Regions from separate parts of the Homo sapiens genome. Here regions 2 and 3 are each linked to region 1. Evidence: promoter capture Hi-C in human tissues and cell types (Jung and others, 2019). All regions are on one chromosome and are shown on one strand. Each heading gives the region's core, a stretch centred on a gene start or on the middle of the fragment in contact. The rest is flanking DNA. Distances are from core to core; before and after follow the strand shown. Region 1 holds the start of PTPRR (protein tyrosine phosphatase receptor type R). Region 2 overlaps PTPRR (protein tyrosine phosphatase receptor type R). Region 3 has its middle 88 kb from the start of PTPRR.

Evidence for each region. The method cuts DNA at HindIII sites, captures the fragments that hold promoters and counts their contacts. A contact is called where the count stands out against the background at its distance.
Region 2: a contact is called between a fragment that was not itself captured here and the fragment with the promoter of PTPRR in region 1, in 3 of the 25 tissues and cell types used here (adrenal gland, aorta and mesenchymal stem cells).
Region 3: a fragment that was not itself captured here is called in contact with the fragment with the promoter of PTPRR in region 1 in 2 of the 25 tissues and cell types used here (mesendoderm cells and spleen).

What each region holds. Positions count from the first base shown.
Region 1 is chr12:70,918,158-70,922,785 of GRCh38, reverse strand. It overlaps PTPRR (protein tyrosine phosphatase receptor type R), which reads left to right and starts at 2,048. Exons shown (of 14, transcript NM_002849.4): 1 at 2,048-2,453. The coding sequence starts at 2,396. The HindIII fragment of the contact is 3,890 bases long and covers 1-3,596 here.
Region 2 is chr12:70,814,414-70,819,041 of GRCh38, reverse strand. The region is part of intron 2 of PTPRR (protein tyrosine phosphatase receptor type R); the gene reads left to right. Among named protein-coding and RNA genes, the nearest start is that of PTPRR, 100 kb to the left of the region's middle. The HindIII fragment of the contact is 7,765 bases long and covers 1-4,628 here.
Region 3 is chr12:71,006,193-71,010,820 of GRCh38, reverse strand. No RefSeq gene overlaps it. Among named protein-coding and RNA genes, the nearest start is that of PTPRR, 88 kb to the right of the region's middle. The HindIII fragment of the contact is 4,797 bases long and covers 1-4,628 here.

The DNA of each region.
Region 1 (4,628 bases), core at 799-3,298:
TAAGTGGGATACAATTATTTTTCCCTAACCTCCAGCCCTGCAGCATTTCTAGTAACAGATGTTAGATGAGAAGAGTTATTCTTCTAAGCTTTACAGAATGCTAAATAAATTATCTCAAAGGTTGACTCAGTAAGAATTTCAAAGAGTTAATTGTCAGTATTGAACTTTGTCAACTATCATTTTCATTTATTCATTTTTGAGTATCTATTTTGCATGAGGCATTGCTCTAGGGAGTTGGGACATATCAATAAAGTCATCAAAGTTCTTCAACATTGGAGCTCAAATTCTGTTTTGCGGGGGGGAGTAGGGAAATAGATACTAAACAATAGATTTTATAAGTAATTATTTTGGTTTGTTAGAAAGTGATACGGGAAAAGCAAACTGGAGGACAGTGAATCAGGAATAGGAGAAGAGGTTGCAGCTTAGAGTGGTTTGGGATGAAATGATAGTGCCACAGAAATGGAGTGTGCCACACGCATGGGGGAGTAGGGGGTGGAGCACGTTGCTAGAGAGGGGCTAGACATGGAGATATGTCTCTATTTTCAGCAGAGAAGGCCTGTCAAGATATTAAAAGTACATCTCATTGTCCCCTTCTCCCACTTGTTGGAGTGCTTCCTGGCCTTGTCTCTCAGAGCTGAAGATGACATAAATCATAAAAGAAATAAATGGTACCGCCTGGGCTCTCTGATCTTATAAGGTCCCACCTAATTTAAGCTCTGGTGGATAGCCTATTTCCCATTAGTTGTCTCAATTCACAGAGGATGGAGAAAGAAAGCACTGAATGAGATGTGCAGCTCAACTCAATGGGCACTTGTTAGCCCCAATTATTTGGCTAGGACAACTTTATTCAAGTTAATGGAATACAAAACTCAGCAGTTCTTATGGAGACTTCAATGTGCTGTAGAACAAACCACAGATAAATGAACTGTCTGAAAGAATAATATGAGGCACGGCTAAACAAGTGTTGTGGAAGAGAAAGATCACTGTAATCTAGAGTTAGTTAGAGTTAGGGCTTTCTGGAAAAGTGAGACCAACATTACACCTTCGAAAACTAGTGTGGTGGTGGTGCAAGTGGAGGAAAATGGGAAAGAGGCAACAGTGTCCATAAAGACACAGAGGCAGAAAGGGCAGAGGCCCTGGGATAGTTAAAAGAGAAGTCTAGCTGAGGGACTTCTTGACTTGACTAGCAGCAATTAGCCATGACTAATAAGGCTTTCCACACTCCAAAGACTTAGATGGAGGGATAAAAAACCATCTAATGGCAGACTGTGGTAGCCTCCCTAGAGACACAGAGCTGGGCCGGATGAGTCCAGGCACTGACGTGATCCATTATCTTTCACCTTAAAGAGTAAAAGGGAAACTAAAGTTAATTACCTCCACGAAACAAAAAGGTGCCTTCTTGTGCTTCAATTACATGGATATATTCTACTAGTCTAAAAGTATCTTCTCACTTCTTTCTGTCACTGTGAGGACTTGAGTCAGAAGAAAGTTTAAATACAGTCATTGAGCTGGAAAGAGTGGAAAGAGAAGCAAAGAGGGGGAAGCTGTAGGAAGGACGAAGTCACCCCCAAGATACATGGTTACTGCTTACACCAAGCAAGCTGCCTTGGGAACGCTTCCCCCGAGCAGCCAGAATGCTCAGCAGTGGAAGACACCTCTATTCCTGTAGGCGAGTCCTGGGAAGCTGGTCAATCTGCAAATGCCAATTCCCAGCAGTGAGCTCGGTCCACGTGTAAATCAAGATTTGGGGAAAGAGTAGGGTGGGTGGCATGGTTGACAATGTCATCAGCTCCCTCCTCTGACTCCTGTGGTCGTGCCCCCATCTACTCTCACTCAGCTACACCCCACCTTCGGATTTGTGATGGACGCTGGGTCCCTAGTAACCACAGCAAGTGTCTCCCCCGCACTTCCCCCTTCCCCACCCCCACCCCCACCCCCAACCACCACCCCAGCGATGGAGCCTACTCTGCTCCAAGCCGCCGCTAAGACCCGGAGAAGCGGAATTTCACTTTGAAATTCCCTTGCCTCGTGAGGGCCGGCGCTGGGCATGCTCAGTAGCCGCGGCGCTGCTGCTGGGCTGCTGGGCTGGCGCGGAGTCCACCCTGCCGTCTCCGCCTTGGCTTCTGGGCGTCCAGAAGGCCAGGCATTTGCCGCCTCTGAGCGCTTCTGTTCCCCTTACCCGCAACCTCCTACTGCTCTTCCTCTCTCCCTCTCTTAGGGAGGTTGAAGCTGGTGCTGGTTTCTGTCGGCGCCACAGACTGACTGCTCTGCAAACCCCAGCCGAGGACCTGAATCCCGGAGACTAGAAGACCCTTGGCGGTGGCTCTTTCTAATAGCACTTTACCTGAAGTGGGGTCGTGGTGGAGTTTCTCCTCCACCTCTCAATGCAAACACTATGCGGAGAGCAGTCTGCTTCCCTGCGCTGTGCCTGCTCCTTAATCTTCACGCTGCAGGTAAGGGGTTGCCAGGCTTAGAGCCGGAGCTGTGCATGAGATGGGAAACTGCACATGCTTAAGGACTCTAGGAAAAGCTTGCCTTGCGAAGAAAGCCTTTCTAAAAAGGTAAAACAGGACAGTACCTGACAGGGAAGGGGTGAGGGAGTCGTGCACCTGTTGGAAAACTGAGGCCGAAAACTTAACCTAAAATTAGCTCTTGATTTTTCTTTACTTTATACGAAAATAGTGAACATTTTCAATATGAATACAGGTTTGCTCCCCCCTTCGCCTCCCCTCCGTCTAGATTCCCTGCTCTTGTTTCTAGGCTATGCACTTAACTGTCAATTTTTCAGGAGAGGGATAAGACATCCTGCTAGATGTAACCTTTTCTACTGCAGCGGCTACTACATTCATAAGGTCTCTTGGTCTAGCGAGCGCTCATAGGAAGGCATTGGCTGTAACCTGATGGACCACATCTCCGCCCAAAAGATCGAAATACATGGTTCACATTAGTGATGCTGCACCAGGCTCCTTTGGCCCCTGCTCTTGTCACTCGAATTTTCTAAGCCAATAAGAGGAAGAAAAGGTTTCAAATAGAATCCTCTTGTCTCTTTCAGCACCGTGGCTAGCGTCCGCTGGCATATTAAAAAAAAAAAAAAAAAAAAAAAAAAAAAAAACAATTACAGTTCCAAAGCTGACAACCCTGGGTTAGGCACTGTCCCTCGGACAGATTTGATAAGGTGTAACCAAGAGTAACAGTGAGACTGCTCCCAAATATAAATAGATTTGAGGCACCAGAATCAATATCAAGTCTCGTGAGGAAGCAAACCTTGGGAAGTACCTGAGAGATATTATATGTGGTGTCCCTGCTTTTTGCATACATAGCACCTCTATTTAATGCAGACAGACTTGCTAGGCTGAATTCCTTATCATTGTCACACACACATGAACCAAAATAAAATATGGCAGGGAGATTTTAGAAACCCTACTGTGACAGCAGTTGTCCATGCAGTAGTCCTGTAACAACCAGAGACGAGGCATTTTCCCTGAGTGTGCTTCTCATCCAATCACACATATCCATTCATTCCTTCAAGCAACATTTGCTGAGTGTATACTATGTTCTAGGGGTAATGAGTAAAAATAATTGTTCTGAAATTACAATCCTTGCAGTATCTTTTTTAAAAGAGTGGGTGAATTTTATTCTCTGTGTACAATAGTAGGAGTGAAATATGGTACTTTCTTATTCCAGCTAACGCTATTATTTAAATGTATCATGAATCTTTTGAGCAAATAATGCATAGGATTATTAAAGCTATTATTAAATACACATGTTAATTGTTATAATTATGATGTTATATTGTGGAGTTTTCAATAGTTCTTTGGCACATTTTGAGAAGTAGAAAATAGCTATGACTTGATTATTAAATTATTTGCAAACAGCTGTAGTGAATTATTTCGTTACCACATACAATTCTTCAATGCTGAAATGTGGGATGAAAACATACACATTGGGTTGAGTTTTATTTATAGTATTGCTTAATAATAGACTGACACAAACATTCATTACAGAAAAATCTCAATTCTTACTAAGGTAGCAATGATTTAGCTGGTCTGCCAACAATATCAGTGTAGTCATTTTTTCAAAACTAACATATAAAAAAGTTTAAAGATCACATTTGATACATCTTGAGTAATTATATCTTAAAAGTTATAAATAAACTGAAGCATGTGAAAAACATGTCTTGATTTACTGTAGATGAATATTCGGGATGAGAAAAATGAGGACTTTTGCTCATCAGATGAGAAACCTAGAAGCCTGTAGCCCTAGATTTTACCTGGAGTTCTGCCAAAGGGTATATTACCAAAGCCAATCCAATCCATCTCTACTTCAACTTTTTAATTTGCAAAACAAAGATAAAAAGTAAGATTAATCAACCAATTTTAATTTAATAAGAAAATGCATTTAAGGACATTTTTATATTTCAATTGCAAGATACTATTCATTGTATTCATATTTAATATAGTAAAATACATTGGTGTTTTATCACAGCAGATTGTAAGTTTAATATTATAGTTCTCTTGCCAATTTCATTTTAAATGCATTTTAATTTTAAACAGCAATTTGTGGGTCACAAGCTGTCATCAGATTAAAATTTATCACAGTTATCTAATAACATTGTTAGGGCTTTTCAT
Region 2 (4,628 bases), core at 1,025-3,524, 100 kb after region 1:
ACCTTCTCTTTATTTTTTACCCTATTTTACTCCTCCTCTTCTGTGGAAGATTGTGACCTCCTTGTAGACAGGGTTCATGCTTCTTCATTTGTGTACATGTTTGTAGAATTTAATCAAATTACAAGTTTGGATAAGGCTGTTCACTTTTATTCAAAAGTAGAGAAAAGACAAAAAATCTAAAATTGATCTTTGGCTTACCATGATTTTTTTTTGGAATAGATACCTGTGAAGTGAGTTTTTAAATCATTATTTATTTCTTTTATTTTTTTCTGAAAATATCTTTAATATAAATATCTTAAAATTGATTGAATATCTGTTACCTTTAAAGTGATTTGACACAGATTTTTGGTAAAGTATTCTATAAGATAGAATGAAACAGGCCTCTAAGGCAACATGACAACTATGAGCCAACCATGACTTAAATCACTGTAAGACATAAAGAAACTTCATAATTTTCAATCATATTAGCCTCATTCTACATAACTCCTTTCAAGATTCTCAAGTTCAATCTTCTTCTGCAATGATCTCAAATAATTTTCAAATAATATTAGATTCTAAATAATTTCAAGCTCTCTGAAAAGTGTGAGAATAATGCTCTCATATTCCCATAGTACGCTTATATTCATCTAGATTCCCCATTGTTAATGTTTTACATTGATGTTATCAGCTACCTATCCTTCTCTCTCTTCTTCTTTCTCTTTCTCAATAAATAAATAGTTGATAGATGATAGATAGAGAGAGAGGCACATATCTGTGTGTGTATGTCCTGTCTCACAAATTTATTTTCTTTTTTTTTTTTTTTTTTTGAGACGGAGTTTCACTTTGTCACCCAGGCTGGAGTGCAATGGCATGATCTTGGCTCACTGCAACCTCTGCATTTCAAGAGCTTGAACTGCCTCAATCCTGGGTTCAGGAGATTCTCCTGCCTCAGCCTCCTGAGTAGCTAGGATTACAGGCAGGCACCACCACATCCGGCTAATTTTTGTATTTTTAGTAGAGATGGGGTTTCACCATGTTGGTCAGGCTGGTTTCGAGCTCCTGACCTCATGATCCGACCTCCTCGGCCTCCCAAACTGCTGGGATTACAGGCGTGAGCCGCTGCACCTGGCCAACCAAATTGACTTTCTAGTATGTGGTAGAAAGGCAATAAAGTTATAAACTAATTTTAAAAAGATAATTTCAGAAAGCTATTAAAGCTATAAATGGTTTAGGTCAAATAAACTGAGTGACATCTTAAGTTATATGTGCATGTGCTTGTGGGTCTGTATCAAATGTATCTCTTATTGACAAACATATCTCGTGAAGTATTCACATCTCCTTTCTTAGAGGATGTGGCACTGTCTGAACAACAGCCTGGTGTTCTTCAGAACAATCATTTTGAACCGGCATTTCCTTTGGAATCACTCTCAATCTTTTCTCAGCCTGTTCAACAAGACTGTGTATAAAAGTAGTAGAGTGGCACCTAATAGTTAGCTCTTGAGCAGATCATTCAACATGGTTTAAGTTGTGAATTTTGACTCAAAAATAGATGAAAATTAACTACTTGAGAATGTGTTACAGATATTATGGCTCTTTACCTCTAAGTAGTTCAGTGTATGGTTCCTAAGAACAAGACCATTCTCTTTTATATCCATAAAACAATTATTAAAATAAGGAAAATAACGTTGATACAATACTATTACTTAATATACAGACCTTATCCATTGGCATCTTTCTCTATTCTATCTTTTGTAGCAACAAAAAGGAAAAAGTCTGCAAATATTTGATTTTTACTTAATTTTTCATATATTTTAAGCTCTTTAAGTAACTTTTAAAACTTTTAAAACACATTAAAGTGTTTGTGGGCTGCCATGTATCAAACTTTAACATAGGTGTTACTTTTTTAAAATAGTTTAAAGTGACCTTAAAGTGTCTTCTGCTACCTTATTGAATTAAAAAGTATAACACATAATAGTATTCATTCATTTGTTCACCCATCTATTTAGCAGTACTAGTAGTGTTGGAGATCTATATAGCACTGAGACAGGATGAGACATTAACAGGATGAGATGACCTGTTAATAGACTGTGATCATTCTATAAATATTGCAGAATTCATAGAAATAAACCTAGAAGCTGAGGCTGATAAAATACTACAGCTGTCCATAATCATTCACTTAAAATCGAATCATCTTCATCAATTTCTGGATGATTTTGTTAAAATCAAACATTGTAACTTAGAAGTTGAAAAACATAGTTTCTATTTTAAAATATTTTAAATAAATACTGTTTTTCTCTTGTTATTGAGATTTTACATAAGATTTTCTATTAAAAAAAGATTCTGTTTCTAATAATGCTTAAAGATAACTTGTCTAGACCTGTGGTTTCTGGATGTTTTTGGTCACACACCACATATGTTTAAAAAAAATTTTATATCTCTAATGCATATGTGCTGGTTTATTTATAAAAGTATTACTAGTATACTAGTATTACATGTTTATTATAAAACTTACCAAAAATAAAATTTTAAGGAGCCAAATAAAAATAAATATAAATAAATTTTGAATGTTTTTTTTCACTTCAATGAATTATCTTGAACAATCCTTGGGGTTCTTGCACCATGCTTTCCTTGGGCCAGGACTTATCTTCAAGGCTGAACTATTTTATGTTTCATTATCTATTCCAGGTTATTGTTTTATGGTGGTGACTACTACTATAGTACATAGACCTGTTTAAAGGTCATATTTTTCTTGAGGAATGTGCATTCATTTTCATATTTGCATATACTCCTAGGTAAGGATCATTTTCCTGGGGTGTACTCATTTATTTCATATTTGTTTATAAATATTTGTGCACCACAGTGTGACTCTTACATTTTTTGCTTGTCATAAAGTTTTAGATAAGACACTTCAGGAAACATTTGTGCTAAAGGTAAAGAATAATGAATTAAAGAGGTGACTAAATGGAAAACTATTTTTACCGTAAACAATGCCACTCCCTCAGTCCTCCTAAAGGATGATTTCACACATTAAGAAGACGTAGATAACTCAGGAAAGAGTGTTTCTTTTAAATTAGTTGTAATTTCATGTTCATCGCAATATGTGACAAGGAAATAGGGAAAAAACAGCTAAAAGCTATATATGTGTCTGTCAAACACTTGTAAAATTGTTTAGGCCATAGCACTTGGAAGTTAACTAGATTATCAGCTGTCTGAGGCCAGTGTTGGTGCTCTTCATTTTTATGTGTCCTAATGTGCTTTTGTAGAAATAAGAGCTCAAATGTGTGTTAAATGAATGTTAGTGAGTTAATCAATGAATGAGACCTTACATCATTTTCCAACTTCAAAACATATAATTTCAGTCAGAAGTAACAACCTAAATGCTTAACACATAGAAGCTACCAGAAGTTTTATATTCTCTTTGAAGTCTCCATTTTCATGATGCTAAATCTGTCCCCCCAAGTAGTCTCATACATCCTTACTTTCCTCACCCTCCTTATATTAACGGTAAACTCAATTATGACAGTCTGACTTCTGACATTTTAAAACCGTTCGGTATATCAGGTGCTGTATTACAGTTTTCTTTACATTTCTACATTAGGTTCATTGAACTTCTTGCATATGTGGTTATAAGACTTTTATTAAATTTATAGATTTTTCATCCATTATGTCTTAAAATATACTTAAGAACTCCCCCCCACCAATTTATTAGGCCACTTAAGCTTGTCCCACAACTAACTGAGGCTTTGTTCATATTCTTTTTCAATCTTTTTTCTGTTTCATTTTGGAAAGTTTCTATTGCTGTGTCTTCAAGCTTACCAATCCCTTCTTCTCCAGTGTCTAATCAGCTGTTAATCCTGTCCCCTGCATTTTTTATTCTAGACATTGCAATTTTTTTTCTAGAAGTGACACGTGGGTTTTTTTTTTTTTTTGATATCTTATCTCTCCTTAGAATGTTCAGACTTTCTTCTACTTATTAAGTGTATGGAGCGTAGTTGTAATTACTGTTTTAATGCCCTTATCTACAAATTCTATCATCTATATCATTTCTGGTCTGTTTTCTATTTTTTTTATTATTTTCTCTGCATTATTGGTTTTATTTTCCTAAATCTTTGCATATCTGGGACTTTTTATTGAATTCCAAACATTGGGAATTGTACCTTGTTGGGTGCCAAATATTTTTATGCCTTCAAATATTTGGAGCTTTGTTAAAATTTTTAATTATGTTTCCAAGTAATTGAGTTACTTAAAACCAGTTTAATTCTTTTGAGACTTACATTAAACTTTGCTAGGTGGAACCAGAGCAGTTTACTCTAAAGCTGAGTTGTCAAACTACAGCCTAGAAGCTACCTACATTCAGCCTACAGTTTGTTTTCATGTCTTGAAGGCATCTCTAAGCACTGTGAAACACAGAGACAAAGCCAAAGCCGGGCCGGCCCCCTCTACTCCCAGAGCCTGCTAGCCTGCTAGCAGCCATGCCTTGCTGCTGTTCAGGATCTCCACTATAAGCTGGATCTCCACTATAAGCTGGGGACCTCCCTGTTGGCAACTGCCAAACAACATGCAGTAGAAATCTCAATCTGGGAGTGGGAAATTTAGCAAGCCAACTTCCCTTTAGATGCTTGTCTTCCCTGTTAAGACAGCCAGGCTCT
Region 3 (4,628 bases), core at 1,084-3,583, 88 kb before region 1:
AATGTACATTGTTTATTTAATGCACGTAGTGTGAATATTCACATATTTTGCTGCAGAAATACTGTTGTGTTTGATCACAGAATAGCGCTTCAGGCCCTGGTGGGGAGATATATAATATGCAGTATATACACTTTAATACTTTCTAAAATACATACAATTTTGAGTTCTAAGACACAGTTGGCCCACAGCTTGGGATACAGCTTGTGACCCTGTATATAGTTTGTGAATTATTGGAATGCTGTCTGCTTATTTGCTTGTTTAACAAGCATCCTCTTCTTTCTGATGCTCAACTCACAACAACATCTTTGCCCAGGAACCAGATGGAGAAAGGGGGTGCTCCTCTCAAGAGCGAATGGTTCCCTCTCAGTTCCTTGTCCACCATAGTGGTGCTGTGAGTCACTGCCCCATCATTAGCCATCAACCCTCACATGACTTGGCTCTCTGGGAGTGCTGCCCATCTAAGGCAGGAAACCCCTAGTGCCATGCCCAGCCTAGGGTACCACCCACCATGTAAATTGGCTCCCTGTGATCTGTCTGGGGCTGTCAGTGATATCCTACCATATGTATGATCACACAGGCTGAGTGATCAGTGTGTGGACTGAGTACAGTTTCCTTCATGGAGATGTATAAAGATAGAACCTATCATTTGGGTTTTATTAGTTTCAAGCATTAATCATTTGGAGATCCAAGTAAAAGATGGCAGCTACTTTTTTATCTTTGGCTGAAAAATAGTCCTTCTATATGACTGAAGAAAGGTTATCTGGATAAATTGAACTTTTCTATGAAAGCCAGGTCTGACATATCTACCCTATGAAGGACAAATCTCAAGTTTGAATGCTTTCACATCTGGTTTTAAGTAACTGACCTAATTGGCACAGATTGAGATTTAATCAGGACAGGGTAGGAATAGGAATAAAGCCAAAATTAGTTAATTCTGTTCCTATTAACAGTTCTGGCTAAATAATATAGGTGGGGAGGATTAGGAGGTCTTTAATGCCTTAAATGTATCCATGTAATCACTCTGCCTTATTAAGAGAGTGGAATTGAAACTTGACAACCCAGAAAACTAGTATTCAAAACCTGCTATGATACCAGGACATAGGAAGAAAGGAGCTTGTTGGCTTGCATTTCTTGTTTCTTCTTGACTGCGTTTTGGAAGGTCTAGAGAAAACATTAGTCTTATCTGTTTCCTCTGATAACATCTCTCCCCCGCAACTCCCCCTCTGTTCCTCTTTTTCCTCGTTTTGTTCTCTACCTACCTACCTATCTATCTAATCATTTATTGTTCACGGTCACTTTCTCTCCGCCTGACGGTCTGTGTATCTGTCAGTCTATCTGTCTGCTTTATTTTCCACACTGGGAAAGCATGAGAAAAGATGGGGAAGGTGAGAAATGGGCATCTGCCATCCCCCAGAAAAAATATCCTCTAATTTAAAATGTTACTTAAATCATTATTTACATAATTTTAGCCTTATAAAAGTAAAGCCTTTACATAGCTGTGATGACAATTCTTAACTTTCACTCTGAGAATCATTTAAACTAGAGATCATTTAGTTTGTTGGATGGTATGGAAATGAGATGTAATCCATAAAGCACTTTGAATTCCTTAGGAGGTTTCAATTAAATCAAAGGGTGCTAATCTTTTATAATAAAATCTTCTTCTATATTGACCCTAGAATACATTTTCTCAAATTACTCAGTGTTGAATTTATTTAGATATCTGGTCAGGGAAGGCCCTGAAAATTTTAAGTAGAGGGATTCCCTTGGAAAATTTTCTCATCAAAATTCTTGTCTTCACACGAGACTATTTTACCTATTCAGAAAACATACAGACTCCAGGATCTATAAAAAGTGGATAAACACTTATTTTTTAATGTTTCTGAATTGTATTACAAAATGTATTAAGGAAAGCTTTTTGCCTATATGAGCACATTGTCAACAAGAAGCTAGAAGCCAAGTTTCAGTTGCAGTGTAAACTGAACTGCACACAACTTAGCTTCTTATGTGGCATCTCTAGAGAGAGGTACACACAGCTTCCCAACTTGAAACAACTGAGAAAAATGAGAAGCATGCTTTTGGGGAAGTTGAAAACCTTGATGCCCTGTGTTCTGGCTCAGGCTGTGTGCGGGGCCCGCTGTCTTTCACCCACAATCCTGGGGTGCCCTAGAGTATTTTCCAAGCCTCAGTAGCTCCTAATGGTTACAGTGACCCTAGCCCAGGGGTTGCAAACACAAAAGCACACAAGTACCAAGCAAAAGATGGAAATGAGTAAAGTGGGCCTGGGGGTGCTGTAGTAAACAGGCAGCACACTCTTACAAAAGGAGACTTTTCTCAGCTCCCAAGCAGAATCCACACAGGCCCAACATTGTTAGAGATTCCATTCTTTAATTTCAAAAGAAACACAAGATCCAGGATTTTTTAGATGATCTCTTATATTTTTAAATATTCCATTGTTGTTCAAGTATTTTTTAGAAACAAACAGCAGACTAGATCTGGACTGTGAGCTGACGCTGTGACTTCTTCCTTAAATGAAATAATTAAACCCAGGAGGAGACCTCTAAACAGTTCACTTCTGTACTCAGTGATTCATTATCCCACATTTTAAGGCTTTGCCATCTTTCTGGCTTATGAGGAATCACAACAAAAACCTAGAGACTATTCTAAGGTCACATGTAGAATGTATGCAAGAGCATCATGGTCTTAAACACTCCTGATCATTAGAGATCATCTACACACTATGTAAGAGGAAATATCAGTTAATGTGGTTTTGTGTTCTCCAGCTAAGATCTCACTGCAGATTCTATTAACATCAACCCTGCAACACTTACTCTGCTTTGATGAGAAGAGAGTATCAACAGGATGAACAAACCATAAGGAGCCCCTTTAAAAAGGGACCACCCAAAGAGAGGCTGAATTAAAGTCTACGTAATACAAACCATCACTTGTGGGAAATGAAAAGTACTTGAGCAATGACTAATGTTTCTAATATCAGACACATTTGATCTCCCTCCCTTCCCCAAAAATAAAATTGTCTCATTTCAGGTGATTATCTATTGCTTGTGAATGTAAGAGTTATTCATTTAGAAACTGAACACATTTATTTCAGCATATGGCTACAGTCAACCCAGAGTTAACTGGATCATCTCTTCTCAGTTTTATGATTATGCATCTGGCTTACCTGGATCTTATAAACTGTATGATGCAAAGTAAGATATATACATATATACAAACATATGTATGTGTGTGTAGACATATGTATTTCAACAACTGATTACTGAGCTTTATGCTAAGTGGTAGAAATTAAAAAGATGATTCTGATAATCCCTGCTGTCAAAACTATACAGTCTAATAGGGTAGATAGAAATATAAGCAATTGAATTAAGTATAAGGCATTAGTGCTGTTATAATGGTATTTGCCAGTCTATCAGCAACTCCCGCTGATTCTACTCCAATGTATATCTAAAAATCTATCCACATTTATCCATTGCTACTGCCATCACCCTCATCCAAGAAACTGTTATCTCTCCTGAACTATTGCCACAAACTTTTATCTGCTTCTCATACTTCCCCTCCAGACACCATCGTCCCATTCCAATTCATAGGAACTAAAGTGATTAAAAAACAATAAGAAAGCCCTGTAGGTCCTGGCCATTGCTTATCTCTCCATCCTCATTTAATAAAATTAACCAACTCAGTCTGGGCTTCTGTCATTTCTCACAAGGAACTAAGCACTTCCTCACTCAGAAACCTGGTGCCTGCTGTTTTCCCTGAAGGGAAGCTCTCCAGTGGTTTACGTGTCACCTCCTTAGAAAGGTGTTGATGACCACAAGTTCTACACTTTAAATTCCATTTCTACTTTGCTTTTAATCTTCATTATTATGTGTCCTTGTATTTGTTTGTTTCCTTGTTTTTTTTTTTTTTTTTTTTTTTTTTTTTTTTTTTTTTTAATCTGTCTTCCCAGTAGATTTTATAAAATCACATCTTTGGCTGGGCGCAATGGCTCACACCTGTAATCCCAGCACTTTGGGAGGCCGAGGCGGGTGGATCACGAGGTCAGGAGATTGAGACCATCCTGGCTAACACAGTGAAACCGCATCTCTACTAAAAAACAAAAAAATAAGCTGGGCATGGTGGTGAGCGCCTGTAGTCCCAGCTACTCAGGAGGCTGAGGCAGGAGAATGGCATGAACCCGGGAGGCAGAGCTTGCAGTGAGCCAAGATCGCACCACTGCACTCCAGCCTGGGCAACAGAGCAAGACTCCATCTCAAAAAAAAAAAAAAAAATCTACAACTTTGTCTCTCTTGGTCTCTGTTGTACTCTCAACATCTAGCAGAGTGCTTGGTATATACGATAGACATCAATAATATTTTGTTCTAAGATTGCAGGGAAAAACAAAGCCTTATGGAGTGCAATTAATTATTTCAGGATTGGAGAAAGAGTGGGAATATTGTTTGTCATTGTATTAGTTTCCTAGAGCTGCTGTTCAAAAATGTACTGTAAACTGTGTAGCTTAAAACCTAATTTATTCTCTCACTGCTCTGGAGGCTAGAAGTCTAAAATAAAGGGGTGTCTGCAGGGTTAGTTTCATCTGAAGGGCTCAGAAGGAGAACATGTTCCACACCTCTCTC